Regions from separate parts of the Homo sapiens genome. Here all the other regions are linked to region 2. Evidence: promoter capture Hi-C in 16 types of primary human blood cells and fetal thymus (Javierre and others, 2016). All regions are on one chromosome and are shown on one strand. Each heading gives the region's core, a stretch centred on a gene start or on the middle of the fragment in contact. The rest is flanking DNA. Distances are from core to core; before and after follow the strand shown. Region 1 overlaps LOC105369309 (a long non-coding RNA gene). Region 2 holds the start of APLNR (apelin receptor). Region 3 has its middle 7.1 kb from the start of OR5AK2.

Region 1 (3,152 bases), core at 169-2,668, 140 kb before region 2:
CTTCTCTTTTTTCTTTTTTTTTTTTCTTTTAAAGACGGAGTCTCACTCTGTTGCCAGACTGGAGCTCAGTGGCGCTATCTAGGCTCACTGCAACCTCCGCCCCCCAGGTTCAAGCGATTCTCTTGCCTCAGCCTCCTGACTAGCTGGGACTACAGGCACGTGCCACCACGCCCAGCTAATTCTTGTATTTTTTAGTAGAGATGGGGTTCCACATGTTGGCCAGGATGGTCTCAATCTCCTGACCTCATGATCCGCCTGCCTTGGCCTCCCAAAGTGCTGGGATTACATGCGTGAGCCACCGCGCCCGGCCCAGACCCCATCTTTATGGCTTCATTTAACCTTAATTACTTCCTTATGGGTCCTATGTCCAAATTCAGTCACATTGGGAGTTAGGACTTCAACATATAATGGCAAGGGGGTGGGGGGCACAAAATTCAGTTCATAAGGGGAAGCATGAACCTGCCAATAGTTTGAATTTGGACTTCTGGAATCCAGAATCATGAAAAAATAAATTTCTGTTGTTTTAAGCCACCCAGTTTGTGGTACTTTTGCTATGGCGGCCCAGGAAACTAATACAATATAAGAAATGCTTGCATCAATGCCTGGTACATAGTATGTATTTAATATATGTTAGCTGTTACTATTACAACTCAGGCACATTCCAATCCAGTTCCTCAAGCAATGTCATTAGAAATTTCTTTCTCTTCCTCTCTCAGCTTGTTTTCCTCTGACACTGCTGAATTCTCAGGTCGACCCTCCCTCATGGTGGTCCCTGGGAACTCCAGCCAACCAACTTAGCAGCTACAGCAAAAGGACACATTTATTTCCCTGTAGATCCCGCAACAGTCCTGGGACTGACTCTCATTGGCCTGGATGAAGTCACATGCCCATCCCTGAACCAATCATGGTAGCCAGAGGGCTTCAAAGCTTTGTCCAGACATGCCTACCCTGTAGGCATGACTGGAGTCAACTCCACTTGAACCACAAGGACTAAGAATAGAGATAAGTGGTTTGGAAAAATAAAATCAGGCTGCTAGTATCAGAAGGGACATCAGGCATCAGAAGACTGAAGAGGCCTAAAAAACAGATTACTACATGGGATTTTAGCAAACTGAAGTTTATAAACAGGATCTGTAGATCCTGCAGTTTCCACTGTGTTCAAAATACTATACTAGTAAAACTTATTGGTTGCAATTGCAAACAACAGAAACCAGGATTAATTAAATTAAACAGAAAATTATTTTTAGGGGGTTTCTGGTAGCTTGCAATGCTGAAAGGAAGGCTGGAAATCAGGCTTAAGCAGGAATGAGCAATGCTAACGCTAACACTGGCCATGATTTTTGCTGTGTTCCACCAGCCAGAGGACAGAGAAGATGGATCCCTTTGTGTCTCATCTTGCATCTGTGGCAAGAGGAGAGAACATTCTATATACTTATTTAGGGTCCCCCCCACCAAAACAAGTAGAGTGTTTGGATATTAATTTGACAAAGAGAAAGATATACAGTAGTTTTCTACTTAATGACAAGCAGGAAATAGTTATGAATAGAACAAGACCTTATAGTCTCCAGAAGCTGCAATCAAGGTACGAATGCCTTATTTAGAACTAACCAACACTCAAGGCAGAGCACTCATACGAGGCCCATAGAATGTCATCGATGAGGGAATGGGGAATGCTGCACGAGACAAATGTCAGCAAGAGAATGGGGATGATTTTGACAATAGCAGAGGAGCAAGAGTTAGGATAGAAAGAGAATTCTAGAAGTGACAGCATGAACAAAAGCATGCAGAAAAATAAAATCCAGCACATAAAATAAGGAAGACTTTTTTGTATTCAAGAAATTTGTTTTTACAGCAGCATCTCAGTGCCTCAAAGATTATCTTTAAAAACAGCTGTTACCCAACAACTACTTAAAGCTTGAAATAAAGGAAAACATTCCCACGCCAACTCTGCACTCTAAATAGAAGCTGAAAAGATAGATACAAAAATACCAAGGCCACTATGGCAGCCTGATTTGAAGCTTTTTATAAAACAAAAAGTTCTGTGGTCTCCTGAAAGGCTCACTCCTCTTGTTTGCACAATTGTTCAGTCTCTCCTGAGCCCCCACTGTCGGGATAGCAGGGAGGGAACTGAGGAAAAGCAGCCGTCTTGAACCAGAGCCAGCCTCCAATCCCTCTGCACCCATGCAAGTGTGCCTTCTCAGGGACAAGGACTATGATAAAATAAGAACATTATCACTATCATGCATTGGGTGTTTAACATGGCTAGAACTATCCAAAGCATCACACAGGTTATGTCATTTCCAACCACCCCAACAAGTGACTGGTACTGTAATCTCCATTTCACAGATGAAGAAATTGAGCCAGAGAGAAGTTAAGTCATAAAATGCCCAAGGTCACTTAGGATTCCTCATTAATTCTCAGAATAGTAACTGAAACCTCTGCAGCATTTTAGAGTTTATGAAGGCTGGTGGAGGGACAGGGAAGGAGCTTATTAAATAATTACAACGGGTCAAATTTTTGTGCAAAGCACTCTACAGATCCTAGAAATATAAAAACAAACAAAATCTATTAGGTAAATGCCCAATATGAATATAATGAATGCTAATGAACTGTAATTTAAAAATGGTTAAAATGATAAATGTTATGCTATATATATTATACCACAATAAAAAGAAATCTATCAGGTGGTACTGTGTGGCATGTGAATGCTCTAAATGCATTAGCTCATTTAAATCCTCTCAACAGCCTTGTGAAGCAGATGGCAGTGCTATCTCCAGGTGACAAATGAAGAAATGGAAGCTCCAGAGGTTAAGTAATTCACTTGGTTAGAATCACCCATCTAGTACATGCCTTCAATTAGTACTATTAGTTACAATATTATTACTGTTGTTAGTGTTAACTAGTATTATTAATAATTGATAGTATTATTATTGCAAATAATATAATAATACTAATATTGTTAGTACTATTAGGATAGATTTCAGAGGCAGTTAGTGGGCTTTTGAATCCCAACTGTACCATCCACTAGCTGTGTTATCATGGGCAGGTTAGTTGATCTCTCTCTGCCTGTTTGCTTATTTATTAAAGAGGGATAATCATAGTGCCTCTCTCATAGGGTTGTCAAGAGGATTGAAATGAGTTAGTAAGGTGTG
Region 2 (3,206 bases), core at 1-2,500:
GGAGGTGCCTGCGCACCTGCTCTGGCCACAGCAGAGCATGGAGGTGCAGGCCTGGCGGAAGCGGGGGTCGAAAAAGGCATAGAGGAAGGGGTTGAGGCAGCTGTTGACGTAGCTGATGCAGGTGCAGTAGGGGAAGATGTTCATGAGGAAGAGGTCAAAGTCACAGGGCCAGTGCAGCAGGCTGCCCAGCATGTACAGCGTCTTCACCAGGTGGTAGGGCATCCAGCACAGGGCAAAGGTCACCACCAGCACCACGATGATGCTGAGCAGCCGGCGCCGCTTCCGCAGGCCCTCGATGCGTTCCTTGCGGAAGTGGCCAGCGATGGTTTGGGCGATGAAGAAGTAACAGGTCAGCATGATGGTGAAGGGCACCACAAAGCCCACGGTGGTGGACGAGACCCCAAGGCCCACCTCCCAGGCCCACTCTGAGCTCACAGTGGCCACCATGGAGTAGTCCATGTAGCACTGCACCTTAGTGGTGTTCTCCAAGTCCCCGGTGGTGCGTAACACCATGACAGGCATGGCCAGGAGGGCGGCCAGCACCCAAAGAACTGCCGTGGCCACGGCCCCGCTGACCCGCAGCCTCAGCCGAGCATTGGCCACTGGCCTCACGATGGCCAGGTAGCGGTCGAAGCTGAGGCCGGTGAGGCAGAAGACGCTGGCGTACATGTTGACGAAGATGAGGTAGCTGCTGAGCTTGCAGAAGAAGGTCCCAAAGGGCCAGTCATAGTCCCGGTACGTGTAGGTAGCCCACAGGGGCAGCGTCACCACGAAGGTCAGGTCAGCCACCGCCAGGCTAGCAATGAAGATATCAGCTGAGCGCCTCTTCTCCCGGCTGCTCCGAAACACGGTCCAGAGCACCAGACCGTTGCCCGTGGTGCCCAGGAGGAAGACCAACATGTAGATGGCAGGGATGAGGGCCCCCGAGGATTTCCAGTCTGTGTACTCACACTCAGACTGGTTGTCTGCCCCATAGTAGTTGTCAAAATCACCACCTTCCTCCATGCTGGGGAGTGGAGAGAAGACGGGCAGAGGGTCCCAGGGACACCAGCTCCGTGGCTCTGTCACCCACTCTGCAAGCAGCCTGAATTTCTGGCTTGAGCCTCAGAGAGTAAGAAGGGCTGAAGATGCCCAGAGTCCTTCCCAGCACTCAGGAGGAGCTGCCTCTGGGTTCTCCAGACCCTGGAGGAAGCCTGTCTCCTGCAGAATTTCCTCCACCCTCTCTTGCCTTACCCCCGTCTCAGTTAAGACACTTCCTTGCACCCTCCTGCGTCCCTGTCTCCTCCTTGACTCGTCACTCCCTCCTCCCACCTCCAGACCAGCCCCTCTCTTGTGAGTCAAAATCTTTAGTGACAGCCCACTTTTTTTTTCTTTTTGTCACTGAGCAAGTGGACCAAATTGACCCCTACTGTGCTGGGCTGAACATTATCTGTGGTTTTGCAAGTCGGCTTTCCTGGCCCCGCCTCTCCTTTCTGGCTGCCACCCACCTTCACCCCAGCCCCTATCCCTCCACTTTCCTCTGGCCACCACTTCCTGCCTGCCCTTTAGGGCACTCCCTCCTCAGTGCTCTCCGCCCTCCTGTTCTCACCCCCTTCCATCCAATCTAAATGGGACACATTATGCAGATTGCAATCCAGCTTGAGCTGGAGCCAGGGCTGGTAGGGAGCAAGGAGGGTGTAAGATTTCGCAGGATGGGCAGGGCATCTGGCAGGTCCTCCTGGCAGGCAGGTCTGGCCCCCTCGGCTCCCTTCCTGCACCCCCAGCCCCCACCCAGACCAGGTGTCACAGGAGGGTCTTCTCCCACTTTGCCTCTCGCTTCATCTTTCTCTACCCCTTGGCTTTGACCCTCCCTCTGAGAACTTTTGTGGTTTCTAGAGAAATACCCCTACACTAGTGTAGACTGCAGTTTGCAGTTTGCGGAAGGCACAGGATGCTTTAGAAGGTTGAGGGCAGTCACAGGATGGAAGAAACCCAGGACAAAATTATCTCTAAACAAGTCATTAAATCTGTAGGAAACAAAGGCCCAACAAGGTCAATGTTTTGCCCAAGGTAATAAAGTGAATTATGCTACAGTTGATTGTTTGCTTTTCTTCTTCTCCAAACACGAACATAATACAGTACCTGGCATGTCGTAGGTGAATGGCTGTTTTGTTTGTTTGTTTGTTTGTTGAGACAGAGTTTCACTCTTGTTGCCCAGGCTGGTCTAGGCTCACTGCAACTTCTGCCTCCTGGGTTCAAGCGATTCTCCCGCCTCAGCCTCCCTAGTAGCTGGGATTGCAGGCTAATTTTTTTGTATTTTTAGTAGAGATGGGGATTGACCAGGCTAGTCTCAAACTCCTGACCTCAGATGATCCACCCACCTCGGCCTCCCAAAGTGCTGAAATTACAGGCATGAGCCACCACGCCCAGCCAGGTGAATGGCTGTTGAGTGAGTAAGTGGATGGATGATGTAGGAGGTGAGTGAAAAGGGGAATCCATAGATGGAAGAACAAGTGTAAGAATTACTACGTGGTGAGAACATGGATACATTTCAGTTCTCAGGTTTTTACTATCCTCCATGGACCAAGAGGTTTCTGTAAGACCACAGGGGGTCAGGAAGTTGAGCTAGAGGAGGGGGGTCTCTAGAGAAAGACTCAGTCACTGGAGGATACTGTGGGGAAAGTTCCGTAGACGCTCACTTTGCCCCAGCTCATCACCTCTCCAGGACCTCTAGGAAGGAAGGAAGATGCACGACGTAAGATTTTTTTTAAAAAATACGCACCCTTTCCACAACCTTGAAGAGTTGGGGAAGCCACCTGACGTTGGGTAATAGTGAGATGGAACAAAAGCAGGAGCTGAGCCTTAGCCACTTCCAAGGCAAAAGACTTACAAAAGCTGGAATTGGCCAGGCAAGGTGGCTCATGCCTATAATCCCAGCACTTTGGGAGGCCAAGGCAGGAAGACTGCTTGAGCCCAGGAGTTCAAGACTAGCCTGAATAACACAGCCAAGACCCTGTCTCACGATATATATTTGTCTTAAGTTACTACAAAAGCTGGAATCCATTTTCTGGAGGGAGAGTGGATCAGAAAATCATATGCAGAGATCAAGGAACTCAAACTCAAATACCTGCAAAAAAAAAAAAAAAAAACAGGCCAAGAGTGTAGTTTGAGACAACAGAGAATGGTAAAGACTGTGGCAAACTGGAGGGTGCCCATTCCATCATAGG
Region 3 (3,126 bases), core at 57-2,556, 240 kb before region 2:
TCTCTTTGCTAAAACATAACAAGAATCACCTTTGCTCCAGTTCCCAAAGAGTTCCTCATCTCCAACTGAGACCAACTCAGCCTGAATTCTATTGTCCATATCATTATCAACATTTGGGGCTAAGCCATTCAATAAGTCTCTAGAGAGTTCCAAACTTTCCCACATTTTTCTGTCTTCTTCTGGACCCTCCAAACTGTTTCAACCTCTGCCTGTTACCCAGTTCCAAAGTCACTTCCACATTTTCAGGTTATCTTTTCAGCAGCACCCCACTCCTGGTACAAATTTACTGTATTAATCTGTTCTCATGCTGCTGATAAAAACATACCTGAGTCTGGGCAATTTACAAAAGAAAGAATTTTATTGAACTTACAGTTCCACATGGCATGGGGAGGCCCCACAATCATGGTGGGAGGTGAAAGGCACATCTCAGATGGTGACAGAAAAGAGAAGAGAGCTCCCATTTTTAAAACCATCAGATCTCATAAGACTCATTTGCTGTCATGAGAACAGCACAGGAAAAGCTCACCCCTATAATTCAGTCACCTCCCACCGGGTTCCTCTCATGACAAGTGGGAATAGTGGGAGTTACAATTCAAGATGAGATTTGGGTGGGGACACAACCAAACCATATCATATTAAAATGAGAGACTTCCCTGATCCTCCTCACAGGAAGTGTGACAGGGGTGTGGCTTGCCTGTTTGGCTGCCACCAAGCAAGCCACCACTGCTCAAACCCCTGACAGGAGGGTGAGCATGGAGATGAGCAGTTGCAGGAGCCAGAATGTGTGCTTTGGTCTCCAGCCCCATGGTAGTGTCCAGGGGTGGGTGCCTGCAGCCCCAGTGTTACAATGCTCTTTTAGCCTTGCCATCTGCAGAGGGCTTAAGTGTTAACCAGCTCAGTGAATCCTCTGCCTACCCACAAGGGCAAACGGCCAGTGTGACAGCTTTCTGCATCCCGAGCTCTTGTCCAGCATCCCAGAAGAATCAGGTCACACATGAGCTTGAAGGGTGAATGTGTAGTTATTGAAGTGGTTCTCAGTGGGATGGATGGAGAACTGGAAGGGGGAAAGAGTAAGAGGATGACCTTCCCCTGGAGTTTTGGCCATACATTGGCCAAACTCCTCTTCGATTGCCCCCAGCTGAACTCCTCTTGCTGTTCAGTCATTCCTTTTCTTCTCTCTCTCTCTCTGCCACACCATTCTGCCATTTGTCTTGTTTGTCTCCTTGTCTCGTCTCATCTGCTTCTGAAGCCTGGTGTTTGGGGTTTATATGGGTTGAGGATAAGGGGGGGCATGGTGGGCCAAAAGGCAATATTTTGGGTGCAAAAACAGAAATGCCTGTTCCTACTTAGGGCCATGGGTCTCCAGGCTTGAGAGTTAGGCCTTTGCCAGGGTACTGCCCTCTTCTACCCAGTATTTCCCTGTCTCCTGTCCATATCATTTCCCCCTCTGAGTAGGCACATCTAACTGCTGCTAGAATATGGGCGATGACCAATCTTAGCTACTTCTTGTTGACAGTGGGCATAGTTTTGGGGAAAATGGCAGTCAGATTCTTCCTAGAGGTCTATCTAAGAGTCCCTGGCAAAGGGGAACCATCGTCTGAGGGTCAGATTGCCTGACTGTTTGGAGTTTGATGGCCTCTATGTGAGAGAGAAAAAAAAAAACAAGTTTTGTAAGGTTAAGTGTGCATGCGTTAAATGTGTATTATACAAGGAAAGAATCTAGTGCCAAAGATTACAGAAATAAGAAGTGTACAGAATAAGAATGGTAATTATTCTAAAAACACTATTGTGCCCCATGGTATAGAACAGAACAAAGGTAAGAACAGCAAGCATAGGCAACACTATAAGGAGGATATCCATGGAAGTTAAATTCATAACACTTATCTTTTGTGATTTTTAGCTTGAGGTCCATGATCTCTTCACATTGGTACTTTGGGTGCTCTTCTGGGTCAACGGCGGTGACTCCATCACCTTCCCAGGCCTTTACTCAGGTATAATGAATTCAAGAGTCTATTTCTGTGACCTTCACTGCCCTAAGAGTAGAAAGAAGAAAAGTGTAAGGTCCCTCTCAACCTAGGCCTATAGAGGAAGAAAAGGAAGGAAATGCCTTTACTAGCACTAGGGACCCTAAGTTAATAATAGAGGTCGCCCTGGTTCATGGGATTGGGCCTCTGACAATTGTTGCAGTTTCTGTTGGAAATGGGCCAACGAGGTTATGTATTTAATTAAATCAGAGGTTTCTTGGTCTAGAAAGAAATAATTGGTGAGAAAAGGCTGTCCATACATCATTTCAAAGAGACTCAAACCCAGCTTTGAAGGAGTGTTTCTAATATGTAGCAAGGATATGGGGAGAAGGGTAGTCCAGCAGAGATGAGTTTCCTGAGAGTTTCTCAAAGAGACTCAAACCCAGCTTTGAAGGAGTGTTTCTAATACATAGCAGGGATAAGGGGAGAAGGGTAGTCCAGCAGAGACGAGTTTCCTGAGAGTTTCCTGAGGTACCTTTTGATAATATCATTTGTCTTTTCTACCTTTCCTAAGGACTGTGGTCTCCAGGCACAAAAAAGATGGTACTGTATACCTAGTGCTTTTGAGACCCCCTAGGTGACAGTCACCTTGAACAAAGAGCCATTATCACTCGGGAGGCACTTAGGGAGTCCAAAGTGAGGAATTATCTCATTGATTAGTACTTTTATCACCTCAGAGGTTTTCTCTGTCCAACATGGAAATTCTTCTACCCAGTTAATGAAAGCATCTATCCATACTAGGAGATTCTGGATGCCTCTTGCTTTTGGCATATGAGTGAAATCCATTTGCCAAAAGGTAGCCTTTGTCCTCTGGGTTCCTGAGGGAAGAAGCCATCAATTAAGAGGATTGTTTTTAAAGCAGGTCTCACAAGCATTATCGACCTGTTTAATTGTTTGTATAAGGTTTTTGCCTGAGAACAATCTCTGAGAGAGTTGATAAGCTTTATTCTTACCTAGGTAGAAGGACTGGTGAAGGCTTTTAAGAGTTTACCATTGGTTGGCAGCTGGTATATGAAGCTTGCCATTGTCTGATTGTAGCTATCCTGGGGACTGAAGGATGTTTCCCCAAGAGGTGGCCCATTATATTTCCACAGGAGAATAT

Evidence for each region. Contacts are between HindIII fragments. The CHiCAGO score rates a contact against its expected background, and 5 or more counts as called.
Region 1: a contact is called between a fragment that was not itself captured here and the fragment with the promoter of APLNR in region 2, in 1 of 17 cell types (endothelial precursors). The highest score is 5.2, in endothelial precursors.
Region 3: a fragment that was not itself captured here is called in contact with the fragment with the promoter of APLNR in region 2 in 1 of 17 cell types (endothelial precursors); the score reaches 6.1 in endothelial precursors.

Annotation. Positions count from the first base shown.
Region 1 is chr11:57,096,463-57,099,614 of GRCh38, forward strand. All of the region lies in intron 6 of LOC105369309 (a long non-coding RNA gene), which reads right to left. Among named protein-coding and RNA genes, the nearest start is that of LRRC55, 84 kb to the right of the region's middle. The HindIII fragment of the contact is 987 bases long and covers 926-1,912 here.
Region 2 is chr11:57,236,000-57,239,205 of GRCh38, forward strand. APLNR (apelin receptor) reads right to left here and starts at 1,251. Exons shown (of 1, transcript NM_005161.6): 1 at 1-1,251. The coding sequence starts at 1,005. RefSeq lists an enhancer at 893-1,525. The HindIII fragment of the contact is 5,179 bases long and covers 1-3,206 here.
Region 3 is chr11:56,994,455-56,997,580 of GRCh38, forward strand. No RefSeq gene overlaps it. Among named protein-coding and RNA genes, the nearest start is that of OR5AK2, 7.1 kb to the left of the region's middle. The HindIII fragment of the contact is 3,313 bases long and covers 1-2,963 here.